Regions from separate parts of the Homo sapiens genome. Here region 1 is linked to region 2. Evidence: promoter capture Hi-C in 16 types of primary human blood cells and fetal thymus (Javierre and others, 2016). All regions are on one chromosome and are shown on one strand. Each heading gives the region's core, a stretch centred on a gene start or on the middle of the fragment in contact. The rest is flanking DNA. Distances are from core to core; before and after follow the strand shown.

Region 1 (4,925 bases), core at 1,987-4,486, 160 kb after region 2:
ACAGAAAAATTGTGTAGAAAGTACAGAGTTCCCATACACCCCCTTCAATCCCCAATTTCCCTATGTTATTAACATCTTGTGTTAGCTGGTCCATTTGTTATGGTTGATGAGCCCGTCTTGCCAAGTTGTTGATAAGAAAAGTCCACAGTTCACATTGAGGTTCACTCTTGGGGCTGTGCCTTCTATGGGTTTTCACAAATATGCAATATGTGAACCCACCAGTGCGGAGTGGTGCAGAGCTGCAGCGTCCTGGAACCCTCCTCTCGGCCCACCCACCCTGCCTTTCCCCAGCCCTTGGTGGCCACTGACCTAATGCTGTCTCCATAGTTTTGCCTTTTCCGGAAGGTGTATGCTTGGAGTCACACAGGGTGTAGCCTTCTGGCCTCGTTCACTTTTCCCGTTGGTGTGTGTTGGCTGTCACGGGCGTTTCCCCAGGTAGTTCTTACTGCTTTCCTTTGGTTTCCTTTGATGTCACTGGCCCCACCCCTGCCGCCGGTCTTCTCATAGTGCCTCTTGTGAGGCTGTTGGCTGTGCTGCAGTCGGTCCTGCCCGTTGTCTCGGCCCTCTGGGACTGCCTGCCTTCAGATGCACCTTTGTTCACGGGCCTCACCGCTCACGTCCCAGCCGTCCTGGGGGTTCTGCTCTGTGTCGGAATGCCCCTGTACCCAGCCCTGGCACCTTCTTAGGGTGGGAGGCCTTGCTGTTCTGCATGGAGTTGCAAGAGAGGTCAGGGGCCTCCAGCCCAGGGCGTGGATGAGTGGGCTGGCGTCCTAACCATCTGATTGCTTGCGAGGTTCTTGCGTGGTGGGGCTTTGCTGCTCTGGTCCCGGGGATCTTCCTTTGGACCCCTGCTCTGGACTCCTGATCCAGCTCCAGGAGGTGTCCTTAGTGACTTCTCGAAGCTACAGTGGGCCCATGGGAGATGTGCACTTCAGCTGTCTGGCAGAGTGTATTAACCAGTGACTTGTGTTTGATAACTTATGTATCCATGTGAGTTTTGAATCACTTAGGACACATTCTTGGTCCTGTTTGTTCATCTGAGCGAAGACAGGTCCTGTGCGGGGTCCCCACACCTGTCTCTCGAGCGCAGCCCCCAGTGGCGCCTGCAGGCTCACCACTCACCAAGGGGGCCCCAGGTCTAGTTTTCTGTCTCTCGGGAGGACTGCCTGCCTGACGCCTGATAGGTGCTCAGCAAGTGCCCTTGGGATGGAGCATGAGTGCCACTGTCTCTTCTGTGCTGTGTGTGGGCAGCAGATCCACCATATGGTGGGCACCTGACTGGGCAGGCGGGTGTGTGGGGGTGCACGCTTTCTCCAGGATCAGATGGAAGCCCCCACCGTTTCTGGTTCCCCCGACCCGGCTCCAGGTTCCTTGCAGTCCCTTGTCCTGGTACTGGGTTCACAGAAGTCTCACTTGTGCCTGGGGCTGGGAGGTTCTGGTGAGGCCTGAGCGTGCCGCGCCTCGCTTCCATACCACCTTTCCTTCCTGATCAAAGGTGGAGCTTATATTTGGAGGGGCGACTCCAGCTCCCTGCAGGTGCAGTCCTGCGGTCCTGCCCATTTGAAGGTGGGCGAGTAACCTGAGCTTGCAGCCACTCGACAGGATCCTTGACTCCTGCTGCAGACATGCTCCTGGACCTCAGCGACCTGCTCCAGGTAGACAGCCTCCGTCCTGCATCTTTCCCCACCTGGGGTTGTGACCTGGGGGTTGTGACCAGGGTTGTGACCGGGGTGTACCCCAGGTGCCTCCACGCATCTCAGTGGCCGGTCTGTGCTGCCTGCCCAGTCAGGAAGTTTTGGTCTGTAGGATGAGGGGCCTTCATGACATGGGGGTCACAGTCCGAGACTTGTGGGAGTGTGGGTCTCCATGGCAGGAGGGCACCTGCCAATGCTGGGCACGGTTGGGTGTTAGCTAGGCCTGGGTGAACAGTGAACTTTTGTCCTACACAAAGGAGATTATTTTCAATTAAAAAATTTTTTTGTGAGTACCTAGTTTGGTATAGGAGATTATTTCTTTTGACCTTGCATTTTATTTATTTATTTATTTATGAGATGGAGTCTCGCTCTGTCACCCAGGCTGGAGTGCAGTGGCGTGATCTCAGCTTACTGCAACCTCTGCCTCCTGGGCTCAAGCAATCCTCCCACCTCAGCCTCCCAAGTAGCTGGGACCACAGGTGCCCACCACCATGCTCGGCTATTTTGTATTTTTAGTAGAGACGGGGTCTTGCTATGTTGCCCAGGCTGCTCTTGAACTCCTGAGCTCAAGCAACCCTCCCACCAAGGCCTCCCTAAGTACTGGGGTCACAGGCATGAACAACCATACCTGGCCTCTTGCATGCATTTTAAATTGTAGAAAAATCTTATATTACAGTCTGTTTGGAGACACTCACTTTCTGGGTACCACAGAAAGCACTTTCAGTTACATCTCTCTTTCCACATGACTGAACAAAGTGACAGAGTGGAAAGACCAACCCCAGGGACCCCTGTGCAGACAGGATACAGGGTGGGGGCACCGAGGCTCTGCAGGGACGGTGCTGGGGGCTGCACCACAGGTCCTTGGTGACCATGCTGCTGAGGACTCAGAAATATTGAAAACAGTTGTGACCACAGTGCAGAATTCATGTAGATTTCACTCCTCAAAGGGAGCTCTGTCCAGATCCAGGTGCCCACAGGGGTTCTGGGCACCCACAGGCTGTGCTGCCACCTCTGGTCCTCAAGGGCTTTCCGCCTTTGGCAGCAGCCCACAGTTAGGCTTCTGCCCGTGTCAGGTGGCATCTGGGGTCCTTGTCCTCCCAGCTGTCTTTATAAATGGCAACTCAGAAGCTACTGCTGAAACATTTTGTGGTCAAGCTAAAAATAGTCTGCTGGAATTGTGATAATCCAGCAAGTCCACATTTCAGATGCTCTCTGCTCAGTGCAGGGCAAAACCACATGACCCTGGTTCCAACCCCACGACTTCCCAGGGAAGATGAGTATGAGGGCCAGGGCCAGGGCAGCTGCTCCGGAAGTGGTCAGGCTCCTGGGGACTCAGATGGTCCCATGGCGAGCTCATGGAGTCTCCCTCTTGATCCCTGCCTTAGGGCAGACCCAGGTTGTTCACTGGCCTGGGCACACAGCTCATCAGACACCCACGAGGGCAGTCTGCAGGCAGAATCCACCTGCTGCCCAGGAAGAGAGATGGGGGGGGCAGCTGGCTGTGCCCCACCCTGACCTGCCCTCAAGGAGCAGCCACAGTTAGACTGTTAGCAAGAGAATTTCCAATAAATGGTCCTCATACATGGTAGCAACTCTGTAAAGAACTGCATGTATTTAGGCCGGGCGCGGTGGCTCACACCTGTAATCCCCGCACTTTGGGAGGCTGAGGCAGGCAGATCACCTGAGGTCAGGAGTTCAAGACCAGCCTGGCCAACATGGTGAAACCCCGTCTCTACTAAAAATACAAAAATTAGCTGAGCGTTGTGGCGGATGCCTATAATCCCAGCTACTTAGGAGGGTGAGACAGGAGAATCGCTTGAACCCTTGAGGTGGAGGTTGCAGTGAGTCACGATTGCGCCATTGCACTCCAGCCTGGGCAACAAGAGTGAAACTCTGTCTCAAGAAAACAAACAAAAAACTGCGGCCAGGTGCGGTGGCTCACTCCTGTAATCCCAGCACTTTGGGAGGCCGAGGCGGGCAGATCAGGAGGTCTGGAGATCGAGACCATCCTGTCTAACGCGGTGAAACTCCATCTCTACTAAAAACACAAAAAAATTAGCTGGGCGTGGTGGTGGGCGCCTGTAGTCCTGACTACTCAGGAGGCTGAGGCAGGAGAATGACGTGAACCCGGGAGGCAGAGCTTGCAGTGAGCAGAGATTGCACCACTGCACTCCAGCCTGGGCGACAGAGCAAGACTCCGTCTCAAAAACAAACAAACTAAAACAAAAAAACTGCACGCGTTTTGCACACATGGCTTTTTAAACGTGAGTTTCCATGTAAAGGCCCTTTGGAGATTCCTCACTTGCAGTGTTCAGGTCTCATTGATCCCTGTGTCTCTGGGACACAAGGTTGGGGGGTGTGGAGTTTGAGGTGGGCAGGCAGAGGCCAGCAGCAGATCATGGTTCTGCTGTGGCTTAAAGAGAGATGGTGGGATCAGGACGATCAAGATGCAGGGGCCTGGCAGGAACCCAGCACAGGGGCTGGGGCACTCATACATGACATGCGTGAGTCACACCTAGACACACTGTATGCGTGTGTACACACATGCATGTCTGCACACTGCATGCGGATGCACACACACACTACATGTGCTGACACGCCCCCCAGTTTGGTGAGCAGACCCCAGGGATCCCTGGAACCCCCAGAAACTGTGAGGAGGGGAAATTCCTTCAGAAGGCACACTCTGTGAGCCACCAGCCCTTGTGATGGAGCCCTCGGATATAATGGAGAAGATGGAAGCTGCGCCCCACTGGGGTGGATGGTGACCAGGAGGAGCTGCTGTGGGGGCCCAGCCCTCCCAGCGGGCAGGGTCCCTGATCAGAGGCATCCCCCACAAGCGCTGCCTCTGGCTCTTGCCTCTGTCTCTTGCCTCTAGCGCAGACAGGACCCTTTGTGTGCGGTCCCTTAGGTCTCCCAGTACCCTGGAGTCAGCAAGCACCTGGAAGTGCCACTGGCGGGCCAGGACAAGGGGACTTGTCTAAGGGCCCACGAGCCGGGCTTGGTCAGGCGAGGGAATTCTTTGGGGGAGGCTAGTGGCAGAGGGTCAGACTGGCCAAGCCTGTGAGGCCCGGGGGCCCCAGGGGCAAGCCTGGGATGAAGACAGCCAAGTGTGGGCAGGGCTCTTGCAGGCTCCAGTAGGGACCAGGCTATTCCCGCTGTGCACCTCATCCACACCTGCCAGCAGACATTGCTCTGAAGTGTCCTCCCCCAGCCAGCAGGGCTCCTTAGGGG
Region 2 (5,009 bases), core at 2,310-4,809:
ACTTAACCAGGCCTGGTGGCGCCTGGCTAGTCCCAGCTACTTGGGAGGCTGAGGCAGGAAATCGCTTGGGCCGGGGAGGCGGAGGTTGCAGTGAGCCGAAATCGCGCCTCTGCACTCCAGCTTGGGCCACAGAGCAAGACTCCATCTCAAAAAAAAAAAAAAAAAAAAAATTAAACAAAAAAAATCCAAAAGATGGGGTGTTAACCTCTTGCAATGAAAAACAGAAACACCCAAGGCAAAATGGTAATGGCCTGTCCACTGAAAAGCAGAAGCCCCACATGAGCAAGCTGCAGGCGGCTGGCAGGCACCGATTCCTGCTGTCCTGTTTTGGATGCTATCTAACATCTTCATGTTCAACCCAGAGAAGAAACATCCCGCCGTTGCCCTGGGGCCCTCTCATCCCACAGCAGGTTTCAAGCCTTCCCCAGCCCTCGGGATGGACAACCCTTGAGAAGCAGAGGTCAGGGAACCCTGACCCCGCCACCCTTGCCCAGGCCATCCGCTGCCCTCACAGGCACAGACAGAAGGCCTCTGTCCGTGGCCAGGGCACTCCATGGGGAAGAAACAGGCCCTGTTCCCTCCCTGCTCACCACTTCACCCAGCTCAGCTGGCACAAAAATACTGCCACCACACCTTCACCCTGCCTAGCCCAACCTGGCAGGGCCTCGGAGTAGCCTGCCAGCTAAAATACGGGTTGCCCAGATAACTGTGAATGTCAGATAAGAATCTTCTGGGACAAGTATGTCCCATGCCATATTTGGGACATACTTACACTAATAAATTTCTGTTTATCTGAAACTCAAATTTGCCTGGGCGTCCTGTACTTTTCTTAACTAAATTTGGTGCCTCTACACACAAGGTCCCTGGGGTGGGGGGGCACAGGAGCAAGCCCCTTCCCAGGCTGGGTCCCTGCCGGCATCTCCCACAGGCCAGGACTGGCCACCCAGATGGAGCCCGTGCCAGGCAGCCGGCGACAGACGGACAAAGGCTGCTCAGGAGACACTGCACACCTTCCTCTTTCTTGTCTGGGGGCTCAAGAATCCAGACGCCCACCTCCCCGAGCGAGCACCAAGACAGGAAGCCAACCTGCAATGCCCAGCCCACTGCGACCACAGGGCTCTGCCGGGGTCCTGCCGGAACCCAGGGTTCCGGTCCAGAAGCCAGGGATAAATGCCGCTTCTCCTATAGGGACAGTCAGAGTAGAGAGGGGGAGGCCTACAGTCTCACCTGCAGGGAGAGGAAGTCCTCGGGGCGGGCACGTGGGGGGCCTGACAGCTCCGAGCACACCCGGCCACAGTGACCACGGACTGCACACGCAGAAGCAGTCTGGATCCCACGCGTGGCTGTGCTGCCAGCAGACAGCACCCAACCTCCCATGCTCCTCATCACAGGAAAAGAGACCAGCAGCATCTCTGCCAGGCATGGTGGGGCCCCTCCGCCACAGCCTAGGAGTCCAGGCCACCCACCCTCACAGCACTGGAGTGCGTGGGTCAGTGAGGCCCTGGGACGGGCCTGCGGGCACAGGGGGACAGAGGGTTCGGGGAGGGCGGCGCAGCCCCACGAAGGGCTCCTCCCAAGCCTGTGTGGGGCCCAGGGGAGCTGCACCTCCGGGATGGGACAAGGCAGGGTCCTGGCTTTCATCAGCCACAGCACAGCTGCCACAGGGCACAAAAGGACGGCTGAGAGACGAGGTCCTCACCCACACCATGGGGAAACCGAGGCATGGGAAGGTTGGAGGGGGGGCAGCCAGGCTGGCGCCAAGATCACAGGCAGGCAGGCCTGAAGGCCGAGCAATGCAGCCACTAGGAAGGCATGAGTTGGGGTCGGGGTGTCCCCAGCCCTAGAGCCCAAAGCTGCCACCACTCCCCACCCCCAACATGGGTGGGGGCAGGGAGAGCTCTTCTTGGGACCAATCCCAAAACCATGCGCAGTGGGCCCGGCTGGAGCCCAGGCAGCAGGCATCCTCTCTGCCAGGGTGAGAAACTGGGCCCTCATGTCAGGCTGGAAGGGGGGTCTCCAGGTGGGGAGAAAGAACAGGAAGGAACAGGCCCCTCCCTCGAGGGACCCCGCACCCAGGCTGCTCCCTGAGCGTGGGGTGGGCTCAGCGCACCTGGGTCCACACAGGGACCTGGCAAAGCTGTATGAGGCTGTGGGAGGGGCTGCCGCTGGATGGGGTACAGGCCCACCGCCCCTCTGAGAGGACAGGGGAGGCCCAGAGCTGCTGATGCGGACTGACCGCCCATCTCACAGACGGGATGTAGGGGGCTCCCACCGTCCCCAAGGTCACAGGACTGGCCGGCCAGACCACACGGCGTCCAAGGCAGCAGAAGCCACGCTCGAGAGACACAGAGTGTTCTGGGCACTCGGGGTCAGGGGCATGGGGATCAAGCCAGAGCGGGAGTGACCCCAGCTCCCTCCAGCAGCGCAGGCTGCAGGTGGGAAAGGTAATGAGCACCTGCCCGAGAGGGTCACAGGCAGGGAGGGGTCTCAGAGTCCTGGGGAGGGAGGCGCTGATGGAATGATGGAATGCACACGACCCCCCACCTTCCTGTGAAAGACCCCACGGAGTCCCAGGCACACGAAGGAGGGCAAGGCTCAAAGCTGCAGGCCCGGGGGGCCCGAGCAACAGGAGGCTGGGCCCACGGAGGAAGCCCCTGCCCAGGAGGCCCTCCGGCCTCTCCCCAACCCTTGCAAAGCGCCTCCCGAATGGGCTGAGGTGAGCGAGAGGCAGGGAAAAGTTTGGGGGGACTTAGAGGCGTGCTCGGGATGCTCGCTCCCTGCTGAAGACCCCCTGAGGGATCCCTGCTGGGGGAAGCCCCGGGGCCAGGCTGCAGGAGGGCTCTAGGGAGGAACGTGGCCCCTCACCGGGGCTCCCCATCCCCAGAGGGGATGCACCGGAGTCCCAGCACAGGGCCGCGGGCCGGGGGAGACCCCACAGCCCCAAAACTCCTGCTCCCAGACCGGCAGCCGGCGCCTCCCAAGGCCACGTGCTCCCGCTGGGGGCTCCCGGCCCCGGACCCCCGGATGTCCCGCAGGCCCCGCGCCCCCCCGCCACCCCCGCGGCCGCCCCCTCGGCCCCAACAGGTGGGCCGCCCCCCACCCCCGGGCCGCCGAGCCCCGCCCGCCCCCGATGGGGCCGACCCGCGGGGCCATTTTGGGTTGGGGTGAGCACGGCGGGGGGCGGTTCGGGAAGGAGCCGGGGGCCGCGAGGGCGGGCGGGGGGCGCGGGGCCTGCGGGGCAGAGGGGCGGGGGAGGCGGCAGCGGCGGCGGGTGGGGGCTGCGGGCGGGTCGGGGCCGGGCATAAAGGCGGTGCGGCCTTACCTCCGACCCTGTACATGTTGGCGGCCATGTCCGGGCCGGCGGCGGCGGAGGGGCCCGGGGCGGGCGCGGCGCTCGGCGCGGGCGGCCGGGAAAATGGAGGCGCGATGGCGGGGGCGGGGGGCGCCGCAGGCGTTTAAAGGGGCCGCGCTGCTGCCGCCGCCGCCGCCGCCGCCGCCGCCGAGGCCGCCGAGGCCGCGCAGGGACGGGAGGGCCGCGGCGCGGGCGGGAGAGGAAGAGGAGGAGCGGCCGCGGGCGGCGGGGAGGGGCCTCGGGCGCCGCCGCCCACCGCACGGGCCGTTACCGACCCCGCGCCGCCCGCGGCCCGCGCGCCCCTTCCCGGACAGTTCCTCTCGGCGCCCCCGAGTCCTCCCCGCGCGCCGCTTCCCGGGTGGGCCCTTCCACCAGAACCCCCTGGTAGATCCTCCCCTGGTGCCCTGGGGGTAGAGGGGAGATCCTCCACAAGGGCCATTTCCCTGGTGATCCCTCCCTGTGCCCCACAGGTGAGTCCTGCCGTAGCTCTCCAGGGGTTCCTCCTGATGCTGGGGTCCTCCGGCATTCCTCCCTGAGCCCCCCAAGGGCCCTGAAGCTCAGCGGCCCAGCCCTGGCCTCGGGGTCCCCACCCCACACCTCCCTTCCAGGCCTAACCTTTGCCCCCGACACCAGGCAGGGCGTGTCCTTGGCCTTCGCCGCCCAGCCCGCGTGGCATCTCTGGACAGGTGGTCGTGCGCGCCTTGGTGTGGGCAGGCTCCGTAGCCGGCAAAGCCTCCCTGAACCGTGACCTGGTGAGAAGGCCGCAGAGGAGGTGCCTGTGCCCAGAGGCCACCTCCAAAGACCCCACCTGAGGCTGGAACCCAGCGCCTGCTGACCCCGCCAGCCCCAACAGGGCTGGAGTCCAGGAGCGGCCGTGCTCTTTCCGCAGTGAGGCAGCTGCCTTCTCTTCCCACCACCTGTCAGGATGCCTTCCCGTGTGTGCTTGTGCACAGGTCTAAGGAGAGGAGAGTCCAGTGAGTGACCCAGACGCCCCAGCCAGGAAGAGCATGAGGTGCGAAGGGGGCTTCCCAGATGGAGAGAAACAGATGGTCCCAGAGTGGCTTGGAGACAGGTGCAACATCAGTGTTGGGGGAGGTGAGCAAAAGGAGCTGTCTCGGGGTTCCAGGCTGCTGATGTGAGCAGCACCGTGGGTCTCTGTCCTGCCTGCTCAGATGCTGGAGGGAGCTGACATCTACTTGGGACATCCCTCTCTGTAGGACATGGAGCGGAGCGTTCAGGGCTATCAGGAGGGAGCCCCGTGGCCACGGTGCAAGATCTAGGCAGGCGGGACAGACATGGTCAGGATGCTGGGGACACAGCATGGGGAATCCAGCACACAGGACACCATCCAGGTGGGTAGGAAACAGCATGTGCTGGGAGGAAAGCCAGGTGGGGGTCCCAAGGAGAGCGGTGGCCACAATGTCATGGCTGCAGAGCAGACCAGTAAGGAAAGCCCCACCAGGGTTAGCACAGGGCCAGGAACCCGAGCTGCAGGGCGGTGCTGTCTCTGGGGAGAGAGGGCTATGGGTCCCAGGACACATCCTGCGGGCTGGGCTGCAGGGAACAGGAGCTGGCTTGCTGGTGATTGGGAGGGAAGAGCAGCCAGCCAGCGGCCAGGTGCAGGAGAGGGGCAATGACAGACAGGCAGCGTCTCTCC

What was found. The method cuts DNA at HindIII sites, captures the fragments that hold promoters and counts their contacts. A CHiCAGO score of 5 or more calls a contact.
Region 1: a fragment that was not itself captured here is called in contact with the fragment with the promoter of MTA1 in region 2 in 1 of 17 cell types (monocytes); the score reaches 5.1 in monocytes.

Annotation. Positions count from the first base shown.
Region 1 is chr14:105,253,248-105,258,172 of GRCh38, reverse strand. BRF1 (BRF1 general transcription factor IIIB subunit) reads left to right here. Exons shown (of 18, transcript NM_001519.4): 4 at 1,624-1,655. Among named protein-coding and RNA genes, the nearest start is that of BTBD6, 7.2 kb to the right of the region's middle. The HindIII fragment of the contact is 7,870 bases long and covers 1-4,925 here.
Region 2 is chr14:105,418,377-105,423,385 of GRCh38, reverse strand. It overlaps MTA1 (metastasis associated 1), which reads right to left and starts at 3,559. Exons shown (of 21, transcript NM_004689.4): 1 at 3,323-3,559. The coding sequence starts at 3,350. It overlaps MTA1-DT (MTA1 divergent transcript), which reads left to right and starts at 3,647. Exons shown (of 2, transcript NR_125385.1): 1 at 3,647-4,364. RefSeq lists enhancers at 677-1,346, 1,347-2,014, 4,693-5,009 and silencers at 3,466-3,725, 3,816-3,865, 3,896-3,995. The HindIII fragment of the contact is 23,301 bases long and covers 1-5,009 here.